2 separate regions of the Homo sapiens genome follow, and region 1 is linked to region 2. Evidence: promoter capture Hi-C in 16 types of primary human blood cells and fetal thymus (Javierre and others, 2016). All regions are on one chromosome and are shown on one strand. The core of a region is centred on a gene start or on the middle of the fragment in contact, and the rest is flanking DNA. Distances in the headings are between cores, read along the strand shown. Region 1 overlaps RBPJ (recombination signal binding protein for immunoglobulin kappa J region). Region 2 holds the start of STIM2 (stromal interaction molecule 2).

What was found. The method cuts DNA at HindIII sites, captures the fragments that hold promoters and counts their contacts. A CHiCAGO score of 5 or more calls a contact.
Region 1: a contact is called between a fragment that was not itself captured here and the fragment with the promoter of STIM2 in region 2, in 1 of 17 cell types (neutrophils). The highest score is 5.7, in neutrophils.

Annotation. Positions count from the first base shown.
Region 1 is chr4:26,338,539-26,342,601 of GRCh38, forward strand. All of the region lies in intron 1 of RBPJ (recombination signal binding protein for immunoglobulin kappa J region), which reads left to right. Among named protein-coding and RNA genes, the nearest start is that of RBPJ, 20 kb to the left of the region's middle. The HindIII fragment of the contact is 9,248 bases long and covers 1-4,063 here.
Region 2 is chr4:26,859,284-26,863,234 of GRCh38, forward strand. It overlaps STIM2 (stromal interaction molecule 2), which reads left to right and starts at 1,558. Exons shown (of 12, transcript NM_020860.4): 1 at 1,558-2,086. The coding sequence starts at 1,936. It overlaps STIM2-AS1 (STIM2 antisense RNA 1), which reads right to left and starts at 1,316. Exons shown (of 2, transcript NR_134674.1): 1 at 1,227-1,316; 2 at 341-745. RefSeq lists an enhancer at 1,115-1,214 and silencers at 1,305-1,674, 1,685-2,254. The HindIII fragment of the contact is 3,345 bases long and covers 1-3,305 here.

The DNA.
Region 1 (4,063 bases), core at 1,528-4,027, 520 kb before region 2:
TGTTTGTTTTGGTGTGTGTTACATAATGTAGGCTCTAACTTTTTTTTTTTTTTTTGAGATAGAGTCTCACTCTGCCTCCCAAGCTGGAGTGCAGTGGCACGATCTTGGCTCCCTGAAACCTCTGCCTCCCAGGTTTAAACAGTTCTCTGCCTCAGCCTCTTGAGTAGCTGGGATTACAGGTGCCTGCCACCCTGCCCGGCTAATTTTTGTATTTTTAGTAGAGATGGGGTTTCACCATCTTTCCCAGGCTGGTCTTGAACTCCTGACCTCGTGATCCACCTGCCTCGGCCTCCCAAAGTGCTGGGATTACAGGTGTGAGGCCTGGCAAAGTTGGGTGTGTGTGTGTGTGTTTGGAGACAGAATCTCACTCTGTCTCGATCTCAGCTCACTGCAGTCTCAACCTCCTGAGTAGTTGGAACTACAGCTGTGCGCCACCATGCCTGGCTAATTTTTTGTATTTTTTTTAGAGACGGGGTTTTGCCATGTTGCCCAGGCTGGTCTGGACCTCCTGGTCTCAAGCCGTCTGCCCACCTTGGCCTCCCAAAATGCTGGGATTACAGGTGTGAGCCACTGTGCCAGCCTTATATTTTTATATTGTGTGTTTCAAATATAATTATATTGTGTGTTTCAAATATAATCTGTTACTTGAACGTGGTGTTTAGTACCCAGGAGGTCTCTAGTTGCGTTCAGACCTTGCCATAGTTTGGTGAGGGAGGTAGTATTACCTTGTTTTACAGAAACTTAACCAAGTTTACCTGCGAGTTGGTAGGAGAATTGGAATTCAAACCCGTATCTCCAGATTTCAATTTCGTTGTTAACAGTCCGGGGTTCATGCCTGTAATCCCAGCACTTTGGGAGGCCAAGGCGAGCTGATCACTTGCGGTCAGGAGTTCGAGACTAGCCTGGCCGACATGGTGAAACCCCATCTCTACTAAAAATACAAAAATTAGCTGGGTGTGGTGGTGGCCGCCTGTAATCCCAGTTACTCGGGATGCTGAGGCAGGAGAATCACTTGAATCTGGGAGGCGGAGTTTGCAGTGAGCTGAGATCGTGCCACTGCCCTCCAGCCTGGGTGACAAAGTTAGACTCTGTTTCAAAAAACAAACGAACAAAAAAAACCTCTGTAACATACAGTGTGTAAAAGTAACACTCCAAATCAGTGAGAAAAAGAGCATTCAAAAAGTTACATTAGAACACTTCTGGTCAGGCAGTGGCTCATGCCTGTAATCCCAGTACTTTGGGAGACCAAGGTGGGCGGATCACCTGAGGTCAGGAGTTTAAGACCAGCCTGGCCAACATGGTGAAACCCTGTGTCTACAAAAATACAAAAATTAGCCGGGCATGATGGCGGTTGCCTGTAATACCAGCTACTTGGGAGGCTCAGGCAGGAGAATTGCTTGAACCCGGGATGCGGAGGTTGCAGTGAGGTGAGACCACGCCATTGCGCTCCAGCCTGGGTGACAGAGCAAGACTCCATCTAAAAAAAAAAAAGAACATTTCATTCATTCATTCAGCAAATACCTATTGAGTACATACTACTTACCAGTACTATATGCTAGTAGTAAAGACAAAATTTTAAAAGTAATTAACATTATGTTAGAAGGTGATGCATGCAACTGAGAAAAATAAAACAGGGAAAGGGTATAAAAGGTGGAATAAAAAGCAGGCAAGATGGTCAAGGAAGGCCTCACAGAGGTGATATCTGAGAAAGACGTGGAGGGAGGAAGAGATTCCTGTGGGTATGTGGGAGAACAGCATTCCACACAAAAGGAATAACACCTGCCAGGTTGGAGCAGAGTAGTAAGAGGAAGAACAGTAAGAGCTGAAGTCAAGGATAAAACGGTGGTCCAAAATGTGCAAGGTTTTAGACAAAGAGGAACTTAGTTTTTATTTTGAGATGAGTAGCTACTGCACGATCTTGAGAAGGATCTCTCAAGCAACTTTACTAAGAACAAGAGCAGAGCTAAAGAAAAGTTAAGAGGATTCTGCAACAATTCAAGGTAGAGATGATGCTGATAGTAAGAAATGCAGCATATTGGGGCCGGGCGGGGTAGCTCATGCCTGTAATCCCAGCACTTTGGGAGGCCGAGGTGGGTGGATAATGAGGTCAGAGGACTGAGACCATCTTGGCCAACATGGTGAAACCCCGTCTCTACTAAAAATATAATAAATTAGCTGGGCGTGGTGGCGGGCACCTGTAATCCCAGCTGCTTGGGAGGCTGAGGCAGGAGAATCGCTTGAACCCGGGAGGCGGAGGTTGCAGTGAGCTGAGATCACGCCACTGCACTCCAGCCTGGCAACAGAGTGAGACTCCGTCTCAAAAAAAAACAAAAGAAAAAAAAAAAAGAAAGAAAGGTAGCATGTGAAAGCCTTGAAATAAGTGTCATAAAGGAAAAAAATCATTTTAGATGTGCTAGTTTGAAATGCTTTTTAGACGCCCAAGAGGAAATGTCTTTTGAGACAGCTGGATATAAAGTTTGGAGTTTAGAAAAGAGGTCAAGGCTGGGAATAAAAATTTGGGAGTCATCAACATATTAATAGTAGTTAAAGCCATAATCATCAAGATCTGTGTTGGTGGCAACGTAATGCTAAAACCCAGGGGCTACATTCTGGACACTCCAAAGTTTAAATGTGGTGAAATGAGAAAACACTACAAAGGAGACTGAGAAAGAGGTGCCAGTGGGGTAGGAAGGAAAACAGGAGTGTAGTATCCTAGAAGTCAAATAAAGAAGATGGCTCAACAAGAAGGGAGTGATCCAGTCAGATAACATGTGGTAAAAGACAGCTGACCACTGGCTGGCTGCGGTGGCTCATGCCTGTACTCCCAGCACTTTGGGAGGCTGAGGCAGGCAGATCACTTGAGGTCAGGAGTTCGAGACCAGCCTGTCAACATAGTGAAACCCTGTCTCTACTAAAAATACAAAAATTAGCTGGGCATGGTGCTATGCTCCTGTAATCTGAGCTACACGAGAGGCTGAGACAGAAGAATCACTTGTTACCTGGAGGTGGAGGTTGCAGTGAGCCGAGATTGCACCACTGCACTCCACCCTGGGTGACAGAGTGAGACTCCATCTCAAAACAAAACAAAACAAAACAAAAAAAAACCAAACGAAAACAAAACCAAACAAAACTGACCACTACATTTAGCTGCGTGGAGGGAACTGTTAAGTTTTGTTGAAGTGACGGAGACAAAAACCTAAATGGAGTGGGAGAGAAATTGGAGACAGAAAGAACCCTTCAGAGGTCTGTTGTAAAAGGATGCAAAGAAACAGGGAACTAGAAGGGATTGTGGGGTCCAAAGGAGAAATACCAGCACGTTTGTATGTTGTCAATAATGTTTCAGTAGAAAGGTAAAAATTGAGACAAGAGAGAAGAAAGTGTAGCTGGCTAGTCCAACATCCTAGAATAGCCAAGAAGGGATGGGACATAGTGCAAAACTAGGCTGCCCAAAGCAGAGTTCTCACAGTGGCTTGCAAAATTCAGCAGGCATCAGAGTCACCTGGAGGGCTTGCTGAAGCACAGATGGTTGGACCCCATCTCCAGAGTTTCTGACACAAAAGGTCTGCAGTGGAACTCCAAGAATTTGCGTTTCTAGCAAGTTCCCGGATGATTCTATTGCTGCTGGTCCAGAAACCTCATTTTGAGAACCACTGCTCTGTATCAAAAGGAGGGAAGACAGAAAAGATGAGTATATACATTAGTACAAATGCTGAACACCTGGGTTATCAAAAAAAAAAAAAAAAAAGGGAATGTGGTGTTTAGTAGCCAGGAGGTCTCTAGTTGCATTAGACCTTGCCATCGTTTGGTGAGGGAGGTAGTATTATCTTGTTTTACAGAAACTTAACCAAGTTTACCTGCTAGTTGGTGGGAGAAATGGAATTCAAACCTGTATCTCCAGATTTCAGTTCCATTGCTGCTTTGTAGTATGAACATCTGCTAGCGATAGTGTAATTTAGTATGTGGTGATCCTACTAGCATTTCCCCTCCTCATTCCTTTCTCCCATGCGTGGTTAACTTAGTCATCTGACAACACATGATTGAGTGTGCTCACTAACCAGACAAG
Region 2 (3,951 bases), core at 308-2,807:
TCTTCTCTGGTGGGCACTCAGCACTCTGGTGTGACTTCATCGCTGTGCCTTTCAGCAGGGGAAATATAATCTCCCGGTTGCCCTATAAAGAATTGCCACCTGAACACTATGCCCACAAGAAGTCTGCTGAGAAATAACTGTTGATAGATTGACTTAGCCTCAAAGACATCCTTGATTCTTTTCTAAAGTGTGCATCTGCCCTTCCACAATAAACGATATTTGTGGTTATCTTGGCCAGGCTACCTAAGAAATACTTTAGGAGAATGTAATTTGAGTATCTTCTTGGCTTGAGAAAGCAAGCAAACAAACCAATAAGCAGAATGAAACCAACAAAACCCAATAGCAAAAGGATCTTCGTGTTTAATAACCCTATCTGCAAATTTTAAACAATTTTGTGCCCCTGGGAGAAAGAATGCCTCCTTGCGTGTGAATTTCCAGGGCTTTTAATTTATAGTGACAGTACATTCAACACTTCCTTTTAAATTTGAAGGGAGGTGGCCTTAAAAATATGCTGGCAACTAGTTTGGATGAGAAAGATTCCGGTTCTTTATTTATTCAAACCAATTAGACCAGGTCTGAACAGGATTTACAACAGAGAGCAGATCTTGGGTGCACAAGAGCTTTGCTTCATTCCAGGTTGGCGAAAACAAGTCAAGTCTACATCATTGTTCTGTCAGCCGGTTCAGGATACAGCACAGAGTCGATGGGATGGGGGTGGGAAGGTGATGAGTTCAGGTAAATGTACCTAGGAGAGTCAGAGGCTAAAGTAAATTCTCTTAAATAGGCCTTTTCAGTGGCTGCTAAATCTCGCTCATTTCCCATGAATTAGCTGTGGGATATTGGGGACAACTTACTTCACATTTCTAGGTCTTAGTCTCTTCATTCGTAAAAGGGGGTAACGATAATTTTGGAGTTATAGCATGTAAATGTGTAAAACGGTTAGAGCAATGCCTGGTACACTCACACATAGCACGCGCTTTGTGAAATGTTTGGCAAGTAAATAAAACGCTAAGCTATGCTAACCGCGTCTAAACAGCCAGCCACTTGTAAGCCCCACCTATATTGAAATTACGGGGACGCTGCTGTTTTCCGATTGCAAGATTTTCCTGATCCATGCAATTACTTTCGCTGCCCTCTACGAGGCTGAAACTCGCCCTCAGGATGTGGGACGTCTGGACTCTTCTCTCCGTCCCCTTGTAGCCCCCCACTCCCCCTCGCGGTGGTACCGTGAATGAGGGAGAGGTACACGTCCCCCTTCTTCCCCGCCTCCTATCTTCGCGGCTCGCTAAAGCGTTATCAGCCGCCCCACGGTACTACCGTCCGTCTAGGAACGCCTCCGGGGCGGGGCTGGGATGCCGCGCACGCGCAGTACAGCAGCGCCGCGCCTGCGCCGTGGAGAGCCTGAGGGAGGCGGGGGATTGGTATGCGAGCGAATGTGCGAGGGGAGGGAGGCGTCCCGGCGGAGCGTGGTACTACGACCAGCGCGGGCCGGAGGGGGCGGGGGGATGCGCCGCGGCGGCGGCGGCGCGGGAGCTGGGGTTGGTGTTTGGCGGCGCCAGAGCAGCGGATCCCGGTCTCGCCGCAGCAGCAGCGCGGGTGTCGTGCACCGCCTGAAGACGCCGTACCTTTCTACCCCCCACCTTTTTTTTTTTTTTTTTTAAATAACCGGAACCAATGAACGCAGCCGGGATCAGAGCTCCGGAGGCCGCCGGTGCCGATGGGACCAGGCTGGCGCCCGGCGGGAGCCCGTGTCTGAGGCGGCGGGGGCGGCCGGAGGAGTCGCCGGCGGCGGTGGTGGCGCCTCGCGGAGCCGGCGAGCTGCAGGCGGCCGGGGCGCCGCTGCGCTTTCACCCGGCTTCTCCTCGGCGCCTTCATCCCGCCTCGACTCCTGGCCCAGCGTGGGGCTGGCTGCTGCGGCGGCGGCGCTGGGCTGCGTTGCTGGTGCTCGGGCTGCTGGTAGCCGGAGCGGCGGACGGATGCGAGCTTGTGCCCCGGCACCTCCGCGGGCGGCGGGCGACTGGCTCTGCCGCAACTGCCGCCTCCTCTCCCGCCGCGGCGGCCGGCGATAGCCCGGCGCTCATGACAGGTGAGGGGCCGGGGGGCGGCGGGCGGGGCTCGGCCGGCAGCGATGGGACCCCCAACCCGTGCAGAGGTCAGCATCTCCGCCGGACGTCCGCTATTCCGCGGCTCCGGCCAGGGCGCGATGCGGAGCCCTGCCTGCTGCTTCGTCGCGGTCCCCTGCACTCCGGACGTCTTTCCTTTTCACCCCGACACCCCGCCCTCGCCGAGCCTCTCGACGGCACTGATTCCCCTCCCTTCAGTCGGGCTCTCCGATCTTCCAAGCTGAGCAATGCGGTGGTTTCTCTTTCGTGCTGCAGAAGTGCCAGCAGGGTCTGCAGGGGACTGGGCTGATTTTTTTTTTTTTTTTTTTTTTGAGGCTGCTAGAAAAAGTCAGCAGCAGCATTGCGGTATTGAGTCTACCTCTGGTGCTGCTTTTGCAAAGGCAGCTGGCAGCGAGTCTCACCGGTTCAAAGCTCCGCTTGAGCACAGCGTCCCAGGGGAGCCTGCTAAAGGGGATTCTTTGAGAGCCATAATACCTAGTGATATTAGTGGTTCCGTGTTAGTATGCAGAAATGCCTAAGTTTACAGTGCATTTTTTGCGGGGTGGAAGGAGGCCGTTTTAAGTGGTGATGGAAAGTGTTTGGTGGTGGGAGCATCACTGGGTGACAAAGGGTGTAGAAACCTCAGCAGGTAACCAGAAATTATACCTAAAATTTGCAAAGTGCAGCATACTCGGGGCTTGCAGCTGGCAGCACAGTTCTGATAGACTGCACTAGCACCTTTTTTTTAATATATAGAACGATCTCATAATTGAAAACTTGGAAACGTGTTTTGTAAGGTTAAGTGCAGAATTGTATCCTTTTTAAAGCCTTCCGGTGTTATGTACAACTGATCAGTTGTGGTTTAAGTAAAAGTTATTATATAAGGACCCTGAAATGATTTCTTTGGGAAAAGTAATGGAGCTAAAATAATGGTTTTTTTTTTTTTTTTTAGTATTTCACTTATTTTTAAAGTAGATCTGTAGATTTCCTACAATAATTGTAAGACTAAAAAGTTTAAAGTGGCAGAAGATGACCCGTGATTAATTTAACCAAAATGATAGTCCTGCGGGCGTCTGGAAGTTACTAACAGCTTCTCTGACAAGTGCTCAGGAACTGTATTCTTTAAAGCCAAGCAGTTTCTCTGATTTCTATGATAGGATATTTACTATTCTAGAGAGAAGAAGGATGTTGGTAAACTTTAAAAGCTTTGGAGGATGTAGAGTATAGAACATAATGGTCAGCATGTTTAACTTTACCCTGAAGCATATCAAGCCCTATTAAATGGAACTTGATACATCAAACCTACCAATTGGGTAACTGGGATAAAGTGATTATAGAATAATCAGTATTAGGAGCATAGTACAGTTTGAGTGAGAAGATAGGTCAGACAGCTTTATGCTTGAATAGTATTTATTCTCCAAATAAAAATGTGGCAAGTAACAGTATAGTGAAGAATAGTGATTATTAGGAAAGTTGATAAATAAGACTATAATTTGAAGATTTAATGCCTCATGCAGGAAGGGAAGGAGCAGGAATATTTAGGCTTCTAGAAGGTATAAGTGGTTCTAGGTTTCTCGAGCAGAAAAATGTGGTTAATACATAATTGGCTAATGCTCTGTGAAAAAGTAATTGGTAAAAAGGCAAGCAATTCAGAAAATTTAGTATTTATTGACTGCTAATAAGTATATTTTATACTGTGTAGATCACATCAAGAAAATTGGTCAGATGGAATTTTAATAAGCCATTTACAATCCCTTTTAAGACTTAAATTTCTCTATACTTATTTAAGGCATGGGGGAAAAAGGTGATTCTTATTGGAAAAAAATCCGATGTATCACACAAAATGAGT